Regions from separate parts of the Homo sapiens genome. Here region 2 is linked to region 1. The links are contacts of gene promoters, found by promoter capture Hi-C in blood cells and fetal thymus (Javierre and others, 2016). All regions are on one chromosome and are shown on one strand. The core of a region is centred on a gene start or on the middle of the fragment in contact, and the rest is flanking DNA. Distances in the headings are between cores, read along the strand shown. Region 1 holds the start of PCCA-AS1 (PCCA antisense RNA 1). Region 2 holds the start of LINC00554 (long intergenic non-protein coding RNA 554).

What was found. Contacts are between HindIII fragments. The CHiCAGO score rates a contact against its expected background, and 5 or more counts as called.
Region 2: a contact is called between a fragment that was not itself captured here and the fragment with the promoter of PCCA-AS1 in region 1, in 1 of 17 cell types (M0 macrophages). The highest score is 5.9, in M0 macrophages.

The regions. Positions count from the first base shown.
Region 1 is chr13:100,477,279-100,483,447 of GRCh38, reverse strand. It overlaps PCCA-AS1 (PCCA antisense RNA 1), which reads left to right and starts at 2,433. Exons shown (of 5, transcript NR_047686.1): 1 at 2,433-2,468; 2 at 6,035-6,119. The region is part of intron 21 of PCCA (propionyl-CoA carboxylase subunit alpha); the gene reads right to left. LOC107984574 (a long non-coding RNA gene) reads left to right here and starts at 2,241. Exons shown (of 3, transcript XR_007063850.1): 1 at 2,241-2,328; 2 at 3,018-3,187; 3 at 3,685-3,901. The HindIII fragment of the contact is 6,979 bases long and covers 130-6,169 here.
Region 2 is chr13:99,993,654-99,999,822 of GRCh38, reverse strand. It overlaps LINC00554 (long intergenic non-protein coding RNA 554), which reads left to right and starts at 1,914. Exons shown (of 1, transcript NR_047483.1): 1 at 1,914-4,924. RefSeq lists an enhancer at 1,358-2,303. The HindIII fragment of the contact is 2,005 bases long and covers 2,936-4,940 here.

The DNA.
Region 1 (6,169 bases), core at 1,184-3,683:
ATGCAATGGAAGAATCCTGGCCCATTGGCCAAAAGGTGTCTCCGGCTAAGTGTGTGCTGAGAGGAGAAAAGGACAGCGCCGGACACATGGCTGGGTCTGTTTCAACGTGGCTGAGAACAGTGGGAAGCTTTTTAAAATCTGGGAATACATCAAAGGGCTAATGCAGATTAAGCCCAGCTCCTTTTTTTTTTTTCCCTGAAAGGCTCACTTTTGTTCCTAATAGAAAGACTTAGATGGTATTTCTTCAGATCATAAAGCAAGTTGTACTTTTAATGATGGAATAAAAATTATAAAAGTAAAACGTGGCTTTTCCTCCCCATTCTTTTTTTCCTTTTTTAAGTGATGAATTCAGGAAAAGACCAGTCTAGGCCAAATTTATCTCTTGTTAACCTTCAGGGATATGGAGTACGCCAAGTATGTTAGTACAAAGTCAAATTTGGATGATGTAGTCATTTTTTGCTAATTCCATTATTAGAAACATTAGATAATATGGTAGTATCTAAGGAATACAGCTTTAAAAATAGTATGCACCTTCACTATCAAGACTGTAAGGCAAAATCAACTTGTGCCCACGACTGAACTTTTGAAATAGAAAATTTTGTTATATCCATGTTAGCCAGGCTGGTCTTGAACTCCTGACCTCAAATGATCCGCCCGCCCCGACCTCCCAAAGTGCTGGGATTACAGGCGTGAGCCACTGCACCCGTGGCATGCACCTGTAATCCCAGCAACTCGGGAGGCTGAGGCAGGAGAATCGCTTGAACCCAGGAGGTGGAGGTTTCAGTGAGCTGAGACTGCACCATTGCATTTCAGCTTGGGGAACGAGCGAACGCTCTCTCAAAACAAACAAACAAAAAACCAAAACAAAAAACCTTGTTATGTCAATAAGAGTATTTCTAAGTGGGTTAGCAGCTCCCTGACAGGCTACCTCTCCAGCCTTCCCAGGCCCACCCATCCTTGGTTCCCTCTCTAGCCTCACAAGACAGCGCTCTTCTCATCACACTCAGGCATTTCACTGGAGCCCCTGATCTCGCTTTGCCCTCCTCTCTTGGAGCCTGCCTCATCAACTGTCCTCTCTTCCCTCTCTATTGGCCCCTTCTCTTCATCCTGAAAGTCAACCTGAGTCATTCCAATCAACAAATTCTCTCTCGACTCTGCATCCCTCCTGGCTACTGCCTTCTGACCTGACCCATGTTCTCCACACAGTCCTCTGCTCTAGCTGCTGCAACCACACTTGCACTCACGACCAAACCAGCCCTACGTGGCTATCGCCACCACTGTTCTTCCTAACTGACAAGCTGTCTCAGGTACCCACAGGTTAGATATTTCAGGGGAAATGACTGTTACAGAAATGTTCATGTTAGAATGAAGAAACAGATCAATACACATCAATCATATTAAAAAGGTGCTTCTAAGACAAAGCATATATTATTTTTATTATTCATATTCAATATTTTAGGAATTAAAGCAACGATGTTTCTGCAAATTTATGGTTTTGAATTGATGGTACGTTGTAATAATGCATAGATAGGGTCTGCCTGAGCTTTCACCCCAGGAACTGTAAACTTTATATTACAGTAGTCCCCCCTTATCCAAGGTTTTAGCTTTCCAAGGTTTCATTTACCTGTGGTCAACCATGGTCCAGAAACATTATATGGAAAATTCCAGAAATAAACAATGTATAAGTTTTAAATTGTGAGTCATTCTGAGTAGTGTGAGGAGATCTTGTGCTGTCCTGCTCCATCCTGCCTGGGTCATAAACCCTCTCTCTCGGGGTCCAGCATCTCCACGCTGTAGACACCCCCACCACCAACCAGTCACTTAGTGGCCATCTCAGTTACCAGATCTACTGTCAGGGGGTCTCAGTGCTTAGGTTCCTTTTTTATTTTTGAGACAGAGGCTGGCTCTGTCGCCCAGGCTGGAGTGCAGTGGCATGATCTTGGCTCGCTGTAACCTCCACCTCCTGGGCTTAAGCCATGCTCCCACCTCAGCCTGCCGAGTAGCTGGGACTACAGGTATGTGCCACCGTGACCGGTGAATTTTTGTGTTTTTTGTAGAGGCAGAGTTTTGCCATGTTGCCCAGGCTAGTCTCAAACTCCCGAGCTCAAGTGATCCACCTGCCTTGGACTCCCAAAATGCTGGGATTACAGGTGTGAGCCACTGTGCCTGGCAGGAACTATTATTTGACTTCACAATGGCCTCAAAGTTCCAAGAGTATGATGCTGGCAATCTGGATATGCCAAAAACCAGCCATGAAGTCCTTCCTTTAGTTAAAAGGTGAAAGTTCTCAAGAAAAAAAAAAGTATGCTGAGATTGCTAAGATCTACAGTAAGAATCAATCTTCTATCCATGAAATTGTGAAAAAGGACAAAGAAATTTGTGCTAGTTTTGCTGCTGTACCTAAAACTACAAAAGTTACAGCCACAGTGTGGGCTAAGTGCCGAGCTGAAATGGAAAAGGCATTAAAGGCAAGCGTATACAGGGTTCGGTCCCATCCGCAGTCTTAGGCATCCCCTGGGGATTTTGACATGGATCCCCCGTGGAGAAGGGGGGCTACTGTACAGTACACTTCCCTTCAGCAAGCCGCATATTCAAGTTCTCTATTTCAGATTCCCCTTCGTGACTGTCATGCAGGAAGCAAAGAAAACCCATTGTGTCCAAGGAAATTTTTACTTTCTCTAGGGATTCAGAAACCTGACTTTCTGATACTCAGAAACTCAGTGCGCATGGGTGAGAAGGCTCGGTAGGGAAGAGGTGCTTTGTAGCTCAGGATCTGCTGGAGCTGAGGGCGTTTTTTGGTTTAATCTAGTTTCACTGTGTGTTTCATGGAGAGGTTCCTCTAGGAACAAAAGGTTCTATGGAAGTCACGTCCTTTATCCCTCTTAGCCATCCCTGTGTCTGCCTTAGCCAACCTCCCATTTGTAAAAAGAAAGCAGAGACCAGGCTATGGCTGAATAGTTTCAGACAGCCCCTATACCACTGTCAGCCTTTGCAAAGTGTAATGCTTTAATTACAAGGGTCACACAAGGTCTTAAGACACAGGAGTCCCTGTGTCTGAACGTAATCACTGTGTATGCGTCTCAGCCTAATGAGGAGGTGACTATCATGAAGGTCTGGTGGTGAAGATCTTGCAAGAAGGTGCCTTGTTTGAGATCTTTCAAGGAAACACAGTACTCAATAAATGTGGGTGAGTAGAAATTACAATTTAGTTGGGTTAATTTTTGGTAGTAATATGGAGCTTTGCAAAGAGAAAGGCATTTGCTGAAGACACTGGTAAAATATGTGCTGAAGCTCTGCCTCATCTAGTCTGGTTCAAAAGTCAAATATCAAAGAGTCAAGAGACCCTCCTATTCAGAAGAAAGCCCTGACTTGTTAATTTATTAGAAGCAAGAGTAAATGCTCCATAGGTTTTTCATTAAATAAAATTAGATCTAGTCCCAGGGCTTTTCTGTAATGGGTGCTCCTGAGTCAGGAATCAAGACCCATGAAGTAAGAAAAGAACAGGTAGGCAAGGGGGTACCTTCTCCTCTAACAAAAGTGGCCTATCAGATGGTCAGGGAGTCTCTATCAGTGGAGCCAAACCAGCTCCACTGACACAGTTAAAGACCCTTGCCATCAAGTGCAAAGGGAAGCAGTAGGACTTAGAGTAGGCCATTTCCTACTAAAAATGGAATCATTTTTCAGTTCGGTGTACAGTTGAGCCTTGAGCAACATGGATTTGAACTGCATGGGGCCACTTAAATGTGCATTTTCTTATGACTCCGCTGCTCTTGAGACAGCAAGATCAAGCCCCCTCCTCCTCAGCCAACTCAACGTGAAGACAATGAAGATCAAGATCTTTAAGATGATCCACTTCCACTTAATGAATAATAAATATATTTTGTCGTTATGATTTTCCTAACACTTTCTCTAGCTTACTTTATTGCAGGAATACAGTATATAATCATGTAACATACCAAATACGTGCTAAATGACTGTATGTTATTGGTAGGACTTCTGGTCAGCAGTAGGCTACTAGCAGTTACATTCTGGGAGAGTCAGAAGGTATCCGTAGATTTCTGACTGCACAGGGTTGATATCCCTAGCCCCCATATTGTTCAAGGGCCCACTGTATCTAGGACGTTGGTCAGCACACTTGTACCCCATCAGAATCTCTCAGGAGTCTTCCCTGTGCCACACTCAGTGATTCCCTCATTACAAGATTAGGCATCCCTGTGATGAATGGGCTTTCATTTTGGTTTTTATTTTTGAGTAACCAGCAGGAGTTTACCTGGGATTTGAGGAATGGATAACATGACCTTTTTTCCCAGTATATAAAGGGCTTTACCTAAAAGGGCCCAGCTATTTCTTTAATAAAAGTGAGTAGTGGGGCTATGACTGATGATTATCTGTCAGAGAATAAGTGGGATTATTGTGTTTTTAGGTAACGTCCCAGAAACTGTGGCTGTCCCTTACCCTGAGTGAGAAGGTTCTGGTGCATGCAGAGTCAAATTGTGTGTTTCTATCCCTCTGAACCCTGTGCAGAGAGAAAAGTTGGTCAGCTTCCATTTCTCTTGGCTTACCAGTTCTAGTACCAAGAATTCTGTTACTATAATATGAGGAGCCCCATTCTTTCCTTTTTATAGTAGAAAAAGCAATTCTACTAGGCTTATCCAGAAAGGCATGCTAGAAGCAACTCCCTTAAGCCAGCCTAGCAGGATTTCCAGGACGAGTGTTCATGCCCCAGGGCTGCTTAGGAGGTGAGGAGTCACTCCCAGGGTGACCGCTCCTGAGGCCGCTACAGTACGCCTGGCTGTGAAGAGGCAGGCGAGCCCTCCTGACCAGGCAATTTCCTCCTCATCATGGCGTCGAGGGTAACAGCAGCAGCTCCTGGAAGCTGTTGCCTCCTCCTATGAGAACTAAGTCAGAGGCTGAGAGTGTGCTGGGGGAGGGGACACAGGTCTTCCCACCTCTCAGTCGGGGACCTCCCCAGGTACCCAGGGAAGGGGTGGGGCCTCCCAGGCACCCGCCCAGCATCAAGAAGAGGGCTGAGAAGCTACAGTTCCAGAGTGGGAGGGAAAGGACACTCGCCAGAGCAGGCTGATCCCAGAGCCCCAAACTCCTCTGGTGTCCACTTGGGCCCAGGAAGGGAGACAGTTGTCAGGGCTCTGGTCTGACCCACTGACCACAGGCCACAATGGCGACAGACCGCTCCTCAGAGGATTCAAAACTTTTCTCTGGAGGAGACAAGACTAGGTTGTTGAAGACAGACAATTTCCTGGATCAAGGGGAAAAAAAATCCACAGAAAAATAAATATGTCCTCAGACCTACCATTCCTCTTCAGGGTAAAATGCAATGAATTGCGGGCTTCTGAGCTAACAAGGCCAAGTTAGGCCAAGGGCAGTTCACAGCTGATCATTTGCTAAGAAACAAAAGCCTAAAAGGCCCGATTAGCTCGAGCTCGCCACATCCAGCAACAACCTGGAGCGGCCGTCAGCGCAGGGCTGGGTACTGCCCGCGGCCACAGGCCTTGTCAGGTGCAGGTGGCCAGCTGTTCCTCATGCTCTGCAGACGGGACAAGAAGGGCTGCATTCAATCCAGGGAAGGTAGAGGCTTCTTTCTTTCCCAGGAGCCAAGGAGACAGTCACATGAAGAGGCTGAGAAATCAGGACTCAGGGGTGAAGGGTAACTCTGCCACTGCCCACAGGAGAACACACGCTTCATAGGGCTCACCCCATCATTTTATTTGTTTATAGTATTCCTGAGATTTCCCTACCGTATACTGTCCAAACTTGCTATTCAACAAGGATTACCACAGTTCTTTTTAGGAACAATCCTTGCTACAGTACTCTCTGGATGATTTAAACAATTATTTCTTAACAACTCTCTTCCCATCATCCACAGGGTCACTGCCTTGCCCCTAAAGCCGCCGTCTCTCACCTGCACTACCCGAATGAGCACTGAGAACTTAAAGCTGTATAATATCAAATCATTAACATGCAGAAAATAGTATAACTTTCAGTAGTATTTTCTTATTCACTGAATTTCCAACAGGAATTAGAAACTCCACATCTAACTTAGTTGCCTTGAGGAAGCAGCTATGGCAACCAGAAAGTTCCCAGGATCCTGTCTCCTAAAGGTAAATAAAACTTTACTCTTAGGTGTGAAATATTTCCACACTGCTAGTTA
Region 2 (6,169 bases), core at 2,689-5,188, 490 kb after region 1:
CAATTTTTGTTACTACACTGACGATAATTATACTATGAGCATGATGTTTTAAAATCAAGATAGTTCTGACTTTATAAAAGCATTTGGTTATTTTAATAATTGAAAACTCCTACATTTCCCTCTAGTTTAGACATTTTAAAACAGCTAGAAATAGAATGTCCAGAGAAATCTTTCTCAGAATGACAACCAATATGAAAAATATCATCCAATGAACTAAAGCAGGGGAGTACTGCTGAAGTTTAATCTAATTTCCACACAGTATACACCATTTTACTATAAAATAATACTTTGTACTTACCTTCCTCAGAAGAAAACATCCTCCTTCCTCTTCTTCTTATTTTTGAGACAGAGTTTCGCTCTTGTTGCCCAGGCTGGAGTGCAATGGTGCAATCTCGGCTCACTGCAACCTCCACCTTCCAGGTTCAAGTGATTTTCCTGACTCAGCCTCCGGAGTAGCTGGGATTACAGGCATGCACCACCAGGCCCAGCTAATTTCGTATTTTTAGTTAGGGACGGAGTTTCTCCATGTTGCTCAGGCTGGTCTCGAACTCCCAACCTTAGGCAATCCACTTGCCTCGGCCTCCCAAAGTCCTGGGATTACAGGCGTGAGCCATGTATGGCCAAACCTCCTTATTATTATTTTAGCTTTCTAGGGACGAGAATGAATACAAATGGTTTTGTGGCCCAGATCTCAAATTAAAGCCCAGACCTCAACCCTCTTACTGTCTTTTTTTGCCAGAAGCAGCACTAACCCTCATTCTAACAAGGAGGGAGGGATGTCATAGCAATGTCACAGCAGCAGACACTTTGAAGGAGAAAGACCAGAAAGGAAAAATGGAGAAAGGATAGGAGGCTGAAAGGAAAAGACAGAAAAACAACTCCAGGGCTGGGCACGGTGGCTCACGCCAGTAATCCCAGCATTTTGGGAGGCTGAGGCAGGTGGATCACCTGAGGTGAGGAGTTCTAGACCAGCCTGGCCAACATGGTGAAACCGTCTCTCTTCTAAAAATACAAAAGTTAGCCAGGTGTGGTGTCGGGTGCCTGTAGTTCCAACAACTCGGGAGGCTGAGGCAGGAGAATCATTTAAACCAGGGAGGCAGAGGTTGCGGTGAGCCGAGATTGAGCCACTATATACACTCCAGTCTGGGCGACAGAGTGAGACCTCCGTCTCAAAAAATAAAAATAAAAAATAAGAAAAGGAACTCCAAAATACTGAGTTGAGTATAGACGCTCTAGTATAGAAACTGCAGACCACTGGACCGTCTCTCACGAACTGGTCAAACTCCTCCTGGGCTTTCCTAGACAGGGGTGGGGACAGACTCACAGGGCTGAGCTGAGGACAGAGCCCCACCAGGCGCTGTCAGGGCGGTTTCCCGACCACACGTCCCTGTCCAAAAACAACCGCACAGCAAATGTGGCTATGCCAAGTCCTTCAGGTATCAGTTAAATCTCCTCCTCTTCTGTATGAATTTGTATTATTTATAAGACACTTGACACACGTTTAAACACTTACATTACTCCTGCGACTCAGGAAATAGAGCTTGTTCAGCTGAGGGAAAAAAAGCATGTAATGAGGGAGTTAACAAGGACTGATATTTTTTTACAACATTCTTTAAAAACTGAAAAACCTCTTTAAACACCAGGAACAGCTTAAATAATTCACTGTAGGCCTAAGGGGCCCCTGTGGACGTTTCCCCCGCGGGTCCCTTTCTGGCCTCGGCCTCCCCGACTGTCATCCGCCAAGGTGGGCCCGGAGGGCGACGGGCTCCAGGCCTCGGTCTCAGCGGTCCTCCGGCTTCCGGGACCCACAGGGGCCCTGGGCTGGGTGGGGGCCAGCCGGACCTGGGGAGGCCGGACCCCGGAAGTGGGTAGAGGCGGGCCGTGCCTTTTGACCCCTGGGTGCGCGGAAAGTCGGTAGCAGGCGGAAGTGCGGCCCTCGAGGCGGTCGCGGCCTGTCGGGGCTTGGAGCGAATGGCTCCAAGGCCGCAGGCTGGGCCTGGGCCGCAGCCGTGGGAAGCCGACGATGCCTGAGGCGCTCTGTCCTCGGCCCACCCTAGGAACTTGTATGACCGCAGGAAAGGATCAGGAGAGGCCGCTGCCCGTCTCCCACCGGCTCTAGGCTCCCTCGGCCGACCGATGTGGGGAAGGGGAAGGGGCCCGCGCCGAGGCTCTAGGGGAGGCTCCTAGGCCGGGTTCTCTGACTTAAGGCCCTCTTGGCTGTGGTTTTGCGGGAGTGAGTTGAGGGAGCTGCATTCACTCAAGTCCCTCACATGCCCGAGGGCCCGGGAATCGTGAAGCCGGGCCTGCGGACCCGGTGGGAGGAAGGAGTGCGAAGCGCGGCCGCCGTGCTCGGCCGGCGCCGGGCTAGGTCGGGCGGTGGGGACCGCGCCGGCATAGGACAACGCGGTGGAGGGAAGCACCTGCCCCCGCCCACCTTGACTCAGGGCCGCCGCGCCCCTCCTGGGCCATCCGCGCGGGGGTCTCAGGATGGCGAAACCCGGGACCTCGCGGCCCTCTAGTGCTCCCCTGCCAGGGTGCGACCTAGGTACCCTTTATCGAGCCCCACTCCCCAAGGCAGAGAGAGTTCGACGTTCCCAAGGAGGGAGTCTCCATGGAGGAATTCGTCCTGCTTCACTTCCAGAGTTGAAAGCCCGTCGGTTCTGCAAAGAGGAGCAGTCGGGCGCGGGCTAGCAAGCAGCTGATGAAAATAATTGTCCTCGCACACACAGCCCTGCGCCCAGGGGCGCGCGCGCGCACACACACACACACACACACACACACACACACACACACAACTTGCCTCCTCTAGCCGCCCAACCTTAATATTCCGGGCATGCAGTTTTCAACAACTTGCCTGACACAATAACAAAGACATTTAAATGCCAGGACGCAGACTTCACTTTTTAACCTGCTGAGAGGAGCTACTTTCAAAGCTTCCCCACCGCGAATAAACTGACAAAAAATATGGGGTGCACTTATAAATTAAACACCTTACCCTCAAAGCAATATACGTTAATCAGGTTTCTAAGGCAATAGCCATCTCTGTCTTTTCCTATTCACCCAAATAATGCCCCCAGAAGGAACCCCTTTACACAAGAGAGAACTGGAAAAAAAATGAATTATACCCATTGCTAGTAAAAAATCATCTTAAATCAATAGAGCACCACTTGAACTTGAGTTTCTATTGTTTCACTGAATCATCAATGTTTTTAATTAAACAGAGCTACCCTTTCTGTTAAAACATTACATAAAAGGGTTAGGTTTCTACTTTTGTTGAGGCAGCTGGCGTTTGTTGGCTGTTGTGTTTGAGCAACAGACTGTTCAATGGAAGCGAGAAATAGCTCAACGCGCTCTTAATAGACCTGTTTCAACAATGTATCTTGAAAAGGAATACATTGTGTTATTGTGTTAGTTTGCTACAAACCTATTAAAAGAAAAATAGCATCCATCAGGTCTAACAAGACGCATTTGTATTATACGTACTTATCTGCTTCAAATACACTTCTTGGCACAATGTCTAGAATTCAACTAGATCATCAGGAGCTGGGCAGAAGAACGCATACCAGTTAGGTAATGATACACGGGCTAAAAATAATAATAAAGGAAGGACTAAGCAGACGGTAATTGCTACTTTTTTGTGTATCATGAGAAATAACAGGCAACCCTACTTCAATTAAAAATATATTGCAAAAGTGTGGACTCCTACGACAAAAACAATTTAAAAAATATTTGTAGCATGGGAATATTGATCCATATCCCATATTTGGAACGAATCTGATACACTTTCGATAGGAATTTGTTTCAGAGAAGGATTCAGGGCAGAAGCGATGCATTTTTAAAGCAGAATTAAAACAGCGCAAAGAGCCCGGCTCTTTAGGGAAATGCGCGAAACAAACAAATCGAAAGCAAGCGTTCCAGCCAAGTGGTTGGGGAGCACCGTTGTCTGGCACTAGGAAAGGAAGTGCTTCTTGAAAGTGTTCTCTTAAAAATGATTTTCCAGACTTATTTTATTGCATTTTAATCACAAAGTGAAACTTAAAGCAAAGAAACAGGACATTCCCGCTACCGAACAGAACCTATCGTCTATTGCAGGAATGACTGCTACTTGGACCACAGACCTTTAGAAAAAACAGAGAGGCAAATGATTAGGCTAATTTAACGCGGAGATCTGCTTAGCAGAAAAGACACCCAAAGTAGCATCTGTCAGAGGAAAACATCTTTTGCTTCCACACAAGGCACTCGATTTGGTTTCCAACCTTGAGTCCTCAACATTCAACTTTCAAGTGCAACAATGTTGGAGGCACAAGAGAATAGTAGATTACCTACAAGTGAACACAATTGTACGGAAAAGAGACTTACATAAGTTACAATGGCACCCTATGTGAGATATCTACTTTAACAAATATGTAGAGCAATATTTTGCCCAATAAAGTCAATCATTTGTTACATTTTTGAATAAGTAAATTATCACATGAAGATTTAGAAAAATGTTACCCTGAAACATTAAACGATAGTTTTGCCATATTACAAAATAGCTATTTTAAACTTTTGTATAAGGCATTTGAAGCCAAATGGCTGATATGACTGTTCTCTTCAGCTGGAACATTTTTTTTCTTCTCAAGAAGGGTGTGTGTGAATGATGTGTGTGCATACTGGAGGTAGTTGAGAAGAATTTGATTAATACATAAGACTTTTCACTAATGTCTCCCCTCTAATCCAAATTTACTTTTTAAATTAATTCACTTGGATTTAAAAACAGAAATGAGATAATAAACCACAAATTACACATTATAAAAATTAGTTTCTCCAATGTATATGATTTTTGGAAGAGTGCATTTTCAAGGTGAGAATTTTTGATGTGTCTGATAATCTGCCAGATATGAGAGGAATGTCACAATAAAATTGGTTTTGCCATGATATGAAATGTTGTTGCTGAAGCTTTATAAAGTCTTTGATTTACATTTAGAACTTTTAGAAATATTTGTGTGTCTGAAGTTGAACTACCTAGAGGGAAATATTCAATCCATTTTAATTTCAAGAGATTGTTCAAATAAACAAAGAATCACCAATGATATCATTTGAAAACCCAGCAAAGGAAGAAGTGTATTTTAGAGGAAGACTGTAATCTGATTCTTTGTTTTGTTCTTGGTCTTTAAAATCCTTGATTCTCCACTTTCGCAAAGAATTTTCAATAGTATATGAAAGCCAAATATTTTTATTGATCTAAAGTTTAAAAAAGTCCACATAGTATGTACTATAATTTGTCTCCCTTTAAACAATAGGAAGAGTATTATTAGATTACTAGATTACTTTCTATATCCCTCCCAAATTGTTCCTAGAAAGAAACTTCTGATCTGTTAATTTATCATCACTAATATCTAAAAATGTTTTAACCAATCAAACCATAAAAATATTTTTACTGCCATTGATCTTAAGCAGCATCTAATTTGAAAGATTTTACAGAGTACATTTTCAAAGCATCAAGCATCTTTACAGTTTCTTGGTCTGCCTTCAGTAGGTAAATGAGTATCATTTCAGATTTCCTTTCAGCTTCTTTTGCCTTTTAATTCACAAGTATAGAAAATAAGAGAGGTTAATGTTTTTAAACATTTCTGCTACACGCGATTATTTCAGTGCCATTCTCTGGTGTTGTGTCTGAAAAACGGGTGGCCAAGCCCGCTGCCCGCAGCGCCAGACATTCAGCCGGATCCACCCCTGGGCACAGTCATCAGGGGAAAGAGATTCAGCTTCCAAACTTGATTAAAAACAACCCAACAATTTCTGCCCCGTTAAAGAACTGTGTGATTGGAGAAGCTGAGTAAATTGCCTCAGAGAGGAGGTGGCTGAGGTCTATGTCTCTTTCAAGTGGGAGCATCGAGAAGCTGAAATATGCAGTTAGAGAGTGTGCTGCAGAAGGGCAGCTTGTCCACCAAAATCTGCAGTTAAAGTCCACTTTACAGGATTTAGGTGCTGAGATGGAGTGATTCTCCCTTATAATTTTTTCATCTTAATTTGAAAGGAAAAAGAAAACACACACACATGCCAAAGACCCACAGAGATGCTTAGGAATTGTTAACTTATTTCTGAGTTACTGAGACCTTTTGTTTTCTATTTAGAAAATATTTCAAAATATACTTCTCCCCTGAAAGTTACAATCTGAAAGATATAA